Regions from separate parts of the Homo sapiens genome. Here region 1 is linked to region 2. Evidence: promoter capture Hi-C in human tissues and cell types (Jung and others, 2019). All regions are on one chromosome and are shown on one strand. The core of a region is centred on a gene start or on the middle of the fragment in contact, and the rest is flanking DNA. Distances in the headings are between cores, read along the strand shown.

Evidence for each region. The method cuts DNA at HindIII sites, captures the fragments that hold promoters and counts their contacts. A contact is called where the count stands out against the background at its distance.
Region 1: a contact is called between a fragment that was not itself captured here and the fragment with the promoter of TRIM60 in region 2, in 2 of the 25 tissues and cell types used here (H1 embryonic stem cells and hippocampus).

What each region holds. Positions count from the first base shown.
Region 1 is chr4:164,758,681-164,762,513 of GRCh38, reverse strand. The region is part of intron 1 of SMIM31 (small integral membrane protein 31); the gene reads right to left. Among named protein-coding and RNA genes, the nearest start is that of SMIM31, 6.5 kb to the right of the region's middle. The HindIII fragment of the contact is 4,152 bases long and covers 1-3,743 here.
Region 2 is chr4:165,030,433-165,034,403 of GRCh38, reverse strand. TRIM60 (tripartite motif containing 60) reads right to left here and starts at 2,405. Exons shown (of 3, transcript NM_152620.3): 1 at 2,292-2,405. RefSeq lists an enhancer at 2,247-2,903. The HindIII fragment of the contact is 10,604 bases long and covers 1-3,971 here.

The sequences.
Region 1 (3,833 bases), core at 418-2,917, 270 kb after region 2:
AACTCTTGACCTCAAGTAATCTGCCTGCCTCGGCTTCCCGAAGTGCTGGGATTATAGGTGTGAGCCACCACGCCTGGCCAGATATTGAATACTTTCAATCATTTGATTGAATTAAACATTTATTCAGTCATCTTGGTTGAATTAGGTATTTGTTAAAATAGAAGAAGGCTTTACTTAGAACATTATACCTTATTCCCAATTCCTTGACTTTCTGTTGATGTTAGGTATATCTCCAGTCTTTAGAATCCCTAAAATTTTGCAGAGATTATTCTGTTTTTGCCCATGCTTGTTATCCATTTAAAGGAAGATATATTTATAGTCCCCTTTCAGTCATAAGCTTCACACCCCAAAGTTCCTATTTAAAGTTGCAAGCAGTTTCCCATTTCACAACCACTAGACCCTGTAGAGTGAGCTCTGTGTGAGCTTTGGGGGTGGTGGCATGTGGAGAGGTGAGGTGACTCTTTCACGTTTCTCCTCCCTCCTGCCGACATTGGCTGAGCTAGCAGGAGCTCTGGAAGTGGGAGGCAACGCAAAGCATCAGAGACCTGATTATTTATTTATTTATTTATTTATTTATTTATTTATTTATTTGAGGTGGAGTCTTGCTCTGTCGCCCAGGCTAGAGTGCAGTGGCAGGATCTCGGCTCACTTCAACCTCCCCTTCCCGGGTTCAAGCACTTCTCTGTCTCAGCCTCCTGAGTAGATGGGATTACAGGCACTAGCCACCACACCTGGCTAATTTTTTTTTTTTGTATTTTTAGTAGAGATGGGGTTTCACCATCTTGGCCAGGCTGGTCTTGAACTCCTGACCTCGTGAGACACCCTCTTTGGCCTCCCAAAGTGCTGGGATTGCAGGCGTGAGCCACAGTGCCCAGCCAGAGACCTTATTAAACTGAGTCTTATGAACAGGGTGGAGATTACCTGTTGCAATCCAGGTATAACTATGATGGTGGGCCACTGGGCTGCTGGACAGTAGAATTGACCCAACTCTTTGCAACTACAGACTCTACTGTAGGCATGAGGAATTGACTATGGCTTCTTTTATAATGTGAAACAGTGTTGTAATTTCTATTTTGCTAGGTTTCAAAGGGCAGAAACTGTAACTACCTCGCCAAGGTTCAAAGGTGATTTATGAATTTTTTTAAGATAAGGATGAATGACTCAGTAATAGAATTAAGATGATTATGTAAAGAATAAAAATCAATTCAAGAAAATTGTTCTATTTGTTTCCTAGAATTCTTAAATTGTTGATTTACTTCTTCATAGTAGAAAGACTATTTCCCTGATAAAGTTATGCTATGGCATAAAGATAAATTATTAGTAAATCCTGTGATTTTCTTTTAAATGAAAAATTCACACTCAAATACTACTATATTTGAAAATATGGTTGGTTTCAAAATGGGAAGAATAACCAAAGCATTTAATTCTTTGGCTTAGAATGGCAATAAAATATTTATCATAGATGGGCAATTGGCTTTGAGAAAATATGTAATATTTCTAAACTTCAAGAAACTTAAGAGATTTCACTGGACAAAGATCTCATGCATCCTTGGACTTGTACATACTATTTCTCAAACTTAATGTGTTTAAAACAGAATTCCTTCTTTGTCTCACCCCCTTTATTTCCCTTTTCATTGACAGTAGCTCCATGTTTCTAGTTGTTCAGGATAAAATCCTCAAAGTCATCCTTGACTCCTATCTTTCTTTCACAGTTCATATCCTCTTCTTTCAAGAAATCCTATTGGCTTTATCTTTTTTTTTTTTTTTTTTTTTTTAGGTGGAGTCTCACTCTTCTGTCCAGGCTGGAGCATAGTGGCGTTATCTCAGCTCACTGCAACCTCCACTTTCCAGGTTCCAGTGATCCTCCCACCTCAGCCTCCTGAATAGCTAGGATTACAGGCGCCCACCACCACACCTGGCTCATGTTTGTATTTTTTTTTTTTTTAGTAGAGTTGGGGTTTCACCATGTTGGCCAGGCTGGTCTTGAACTCCTGACCTCAAGTGATCCACCCGCCTTGGCCTCCCAAAGTGCTGGGATTACAAGCATGAGCCACCAGGCCTGGCCCCTATTGGCTTTATCTTCAACATACATTCAGAATCCCACCACTTCCATTGCAACCACCCTGATTTGAAGCACTACTACTCACAAGGTTTAATGAAATAGGGTCTTAACTGATCTCTCAATGTCTCCCTTTGCTTTTCTTTCTACCCTTAAGACAGCATTTTAAGATTGTAAGGCATACTACATTGCCTATCTAGTCAACACTCTATTATGGCTCCTATTTCACTCAGATTAAAAGCCAGTATCCTTGCAAATGTCCTGTTGGAAGACCCTAAATTATCTGGTCCTGCTTTGTCTCTGACTTTCTCTCCTACTTTCCTCCCCGTCATTTCCTCCATTCTAGGTGCACTATCCTCCTGGCTTTTGCTCCTTCACTCCAGGCATATTTCCACCAGAGGGCCTTTGTACTGGCTATTCTCTTTACCTGGAATGCGCTTCTCTGGAGACCTGAATGGCTTACCCTCTTACCTCCTTCAAGCCTTTGCTCAGAGGTGTTACTTTCTCAGTGTGGTCTACTCTCACCCTCATATTAAAAGTTGGAACTCCCCGCAGTCTCCTTAGCCTGCTTTGTTATATTTTTGCAAAGCAATTATTACCTTCTAATCTTTACTTATTTATTGTATTTATTGTTTAGTATAATAGAATTTAAGCTTCATGAGGGCGAGGATTTTTGTGTGTTTTGTTTGCTGAGCCTAGAACAGTGCTTGGAATAGTACCTGGCTAGATATTTAGCCAGGAGGAGCTCAATTAGTATTTACCAATATGATTCAGTGAATGAATGAATGAATGAATGAAGATCTAATGAAGTGGATACAGATTTGCCTGGTGGAATGATACCTCATTGATAGGGATATCTTTAGGTCACTATAAAAATAAATTTGATAGGGAGTTTAGTTAAATGGAAAAAGCTTACCCATTCGAGTCATACCTGATTCTAGCCCCTGGCACTTACAGATATAGTTTTTGTATTTTTGACATAAGAATAATATCTATTCTCAGGGTTGTTGTGAGGATTAAATTAACATATGTAACATACCAAATAAAGTAACTGATACATTGTAGGACCTCACAAAATGATAGCTATTATTATTAGCAGTCTCCTTTTCCATGGAAAGATTGTGAGGAGCTCTCACAAGATGAGTGCATTCTATCAAACACTTAAGGAAAAAAAAGTTTACATAAAATCAGAAAATAGAGGCAGAGGAAATAATTCCTAATCATTTTATGAGGCCTGGATTAGTTCTGATATCCAAAACTGGCAGACATTACAAAAACAATAACAAAAGTAAATTGCGGACTAATATTCTTAATGTACATAAACACAAAAATCCTAATAAGATGATAGCAAATGAAATCCAGCAATGTACATAAAAGGATACTATAATGAGTAAGCAGGGTTTATCCCAGGGTCGGCTTAACATTTGGAATTCAATCACTGTAATGTTCTCTATTAACAGAATAAAGCAGAAAAACTACATATATGAGGCAGGGCGCGGTGGCTCATGCCTGTAATCCTAGCACTTTGGGAGGCTGAGGCGGGCAGATCACGAGGTCAGGAGATCGAGACCATCCTGGCTAACACGGTGAAACCCAGTCTCTACTAAAAATACAAAAAAAAAAAAAAAAAAAAAAAAAAAAAAAAAAAAAAAATTTGGCCGGGCGTGGTGGCGGGCGCCTGTAGTCCCAGCTATGCTGGAGGCTGAGGCAGGAGAATGGCGTGAACCCGGGAGGCGGAGCTTGCAGTCAGCCGAGATCACGTCACTGCAGTCTA
Region 2 (3,971 bases), core at 1,156-3,655:
GAGGTGGGTGGATCATGAGGTCTGGAGTTCGAGACCAGCCTGACTAACATGGTGAAACCCCGTCTCTACTAACAATACAAAAATTAGCCAGGTGTAGTGGCGTGCGCCTGTAATCCCAGCTCCTCAGAAAGGCTGGGGCAGGAGAATTGCTTGAACCCAGGAGGTGGAGGTTGCAGTGAGCCGAGATCACGCCACTGCACTCCATCCTGGGCGACAGAGTGAGAGTCATCTTAAAAAAAAAAAAAAAGTGTATTTCATTTAAAATAAAAAGGTGCAGGGAACATTCCTGCATAGATCCTGGAACTCAATGGTTCGTCCTTCCCCACACACTCCAGCTTCCCCTAACCCATCTTCCAGACTCAGGCAATGAAGTTTAAAGAACAGCATTATAAGCCACTCTTCTCAGTCCAAGCTATAAACATTAGCCTACTATAGTAACTATCTTCTGATACCTGAAGACAAGGCCCCTGTCTCCCAGCATCTATGGGAGAGTTGGGGCCTGACTTCCTTAAGTGCCAGTGAGCAAACCTGGGTGTGTTTCACATGACCCAACCACCCCTTTCCCACTTTTTGTAATTTTTCACTTCCCTGACTCTACTGAGCGCCAACTCACTACCTTCATTCCCCAGTTCCCCTTTGAAGCACTTGGTCACCTCTGTACAAATCACAGTTGAGTTCTGTTCATGCTGAATTCTCCCTATTGCAATAGTACAGTACTGATTAAAATCTGTCCTTATGACTACCCAGTGTCTGGCTTTATTTTTGACATGCTCTATCCCGTCAATCAATTCCATAACTCTATAGTTTCCAAACACAGATCTAATCCTATAACCTTCCGATTTCCAATGGAATGGCTTTTCTTACTCTTAAGTATTACAAGACTCACCAACATCTGGACTTTACTCTTTTCCTGACTCCACATATCTATCATACTGCAGATTACAGTTGAGATTTTTACATTTATTTTTGTCAACCTTTGGTTAAGGACACTGGAGAGTACAGTTCACGGTCTGAATTCTTCCTTATTTTCCTCACAACTGAATTACCAACTCTGATTCTTATGCTGGTGTACAACGTGTGTTCAATAATTATTAGGCTAATAAATCAAACCTGCAGTAGATTCCCTACTCTCAAAATTCAACCTCTACTGCTTGAGATCTTGTCACATTAAAAAAGAAAAATTCAACCTCTATTACCTTATTTATTTTACTTTTTGAGACAGGATCTCACTCTGTCGCCAAGGCTGGAGTGCAGTGGCGCGATCTCCATTCACTGCAACCTCTGCCTCCAGGCTCAAGCGATCCTCGCACCTCAGCCTCCCGAGTAGCTGGGACCACAGGCACGCCCCACCATGCCCGGATTTTTTTTTTTTTTTTTGTAGAGACAGGGGTCTCACTATGTTGCCCAGGCACGAGCGTGAGCTAGAACTCCTGGGTTCAAGCGATCCTCCCGCATCGGCCTCCTCATGGGGTTACAGGTGTGAGCCACCGCGCCTGGCTCCTACTCTGATTCTTGTGCTGGTTCATAGTGTGGGCTCAGTGAATATAAATCAAACCTGTGGGAGATTCCCAGATCTCAAGATTCAACCTCTATTACTTTAGATGATACGAAACGTAAGTGAGCCTAAACTTTCTCATCCGTAGCAGTTTCCTGACAGCCAGATCCTTGTGAGGACGGAAGGAGACAAAATCCGCCAGAGAAGTGCTGGCGCTGTAGGGTGGGAGGTCCTTCCTTAACGCTCCCACCATAATTTTTGGAGATCACGTGGCCACTTCCCAAACTGGTGTTCAGATCAGAATCTTCTTTAAAGTTCAATCATCGGGGTCCCACTGCCTCCGCGGCGAAAACAGAATCCGGCCGAGCACGGTGGCTCACGCCTGTAACCCCAGCACTTTGGAAGGCCGAGGCGGGCGGACCACCTGAGGTCGGAAGTTCGACACCAGCCTGGCCAACATGGAGAAACCTCGTCTCTACTAAAAATACAAAAATTAGCTGGGTGTGGTGGCGAGCGCCTGTAATCCCAGCTACTCAGGAGGCTGAGACAGGAGAATCGCTTGAATCCGGGAGGCGGAGGTTGCAGTGAGGCGAGATTGCGCCACTGCACTCCAGCGTGGGTGACAGAGCGAGACTCCGTCTCAGAAACAAAAAAAAGGATCCACAGTCTGAGCTCAGTCGTGGACAGGTCGCGACCCCGAGGTTTGGGCACAGCTGATACTCAGGAAGCCCCTGCCCAGTTAAGTAAGCCTCCCGCCAGGCCCTACTGCGCCTTTCCTGCGGCCCTCCCAGCTTACCTGGAGCAGTTGGACCGGCGGCTCAGGCCTGATGCTGTGCAGGACCCATGGAACCCCGCGGGGCGCAGAGCGGAAACCCTCACACAACCCTGGGCGCCTTGGTTTTCGAGTTTTAGGCATACAATTGACCAGCGCGGTGGTTGGCTGCTCCACCGGAAGTGGGCGGGAAAGGCCTGAGCATGCTCAATGCCGCAGGGTGCAGGGAGCGTGAGAAGATTCTGAGGAGAGCCTAGGGCGGTTCCCTCCGTGGTGGGGTCCCTGATGGCTTCAGTGGGTCATTTAAATCACAATGGCAATCTTTTCAGATTTTTCATTCCTATGAGCAACTTTTTTTTTTTCTTTTTTTTTGAGACAGGGTCTGGTGCGGTCTCGGCTCACTGTAGTCTCGACCATCCGGGCTCAAACGATCCTCCCACTTCACAGGCGCGCGCCACCACGCCCAGCTGATTGTTGTATTTTTTGGTGGAGACTGGGTTTCGCCACGTTCCCCGGGCTGGTCTCGAACTCATGGGCTCAAGCGATCCGCCTGCCTCGCTGTGAGCCACCGCGCCCGGCCAGGGTGGTTAGTTTTAAAATGCAAGAGGAATAATCAGCTCTTTGGATCAGTTTGCGTCTCTGGTTGAGAGGCTGCGTAGTTACCACCCTGGAGATTAGGCCCCACCCTACCAACTAAGACTCACCAAGGTCTCGTCTGAGGAATTGATATTTAAAGTAGATTTTAAGGGACGAGTATGAGTTTGTTGGACAAACTTGACGGTAAAATCTTCAAGGCTGAAGGATTAGTCCTTGTGAGGAGCCTCTTAAGTCTTATAACTTGGTAAATGAGACAGTGAAAGAGGCTAATATTTGCAGAAGAAGTCATAGAATCGGCATAGCACTTTTTTATTTATTTATTTATTTTTGAGACGGAGTCTCGCTGTGTTGCCCAGGCTGGAGTGCAGTGGCACGATCTCGGCTCACTGCAAGCTCTGCCTCCCGGGTTCACGCTGTTCTCCTGCCTCAGCCCCCCGAGTGGCTAGGACTACAGGCGCCCGACACCACGCCCAGCTAATTTTTTCTATTTTTTAGTAGAGACGGGGTTTCACTCTGTTAGCCAGGATGGTCTCGATCTCCTGACCTCGTGATCCACCCGTCTCGGCCTCCCAAAGTGCTGGGATTACAGGCGTGAGCCATCGCGCCTGGCCGGCGCACTTTTCTGTTTAAAATGTAGGGCTACTTGGCCAGGCGCGGTGGTTCACACATGCAATCCCAGCACTTTGGGAGGCCAAGGCGGGCGGATCAGCTGAGGTCGGGAGTTCGAGACCAACCTGGCTAAAGTGGCAAAACCCCGTCTCTCTAAAAATACAAAAAATTAGCCGGGCATGGTGGTGCATGCCTGTAATCCCAGCTACTCGGGAGGCTGAGGCAGGAGAAGAGCTTGGACCCGGGAGGCGGAGGTTGCAGTGAGCCAAGATCGGGTCACTGCACTCCAGCCTGGGCAATAGAGTGAGACTCAGTCTCAAAATAAAAATAAAAAATAAATAAATAAAATAACTTAGAGCTACCTTCCCAGAAAAATACCCTCTTGTGATGAAGTCTGAGATTTGATGGAAGAGTGGGAAGTAGGAACAGGGAACAATAAGTGAAATCTTCAAATCTTCACACCTTAGTGCAGAAGATGCAAACAGAGAGGATGATAAA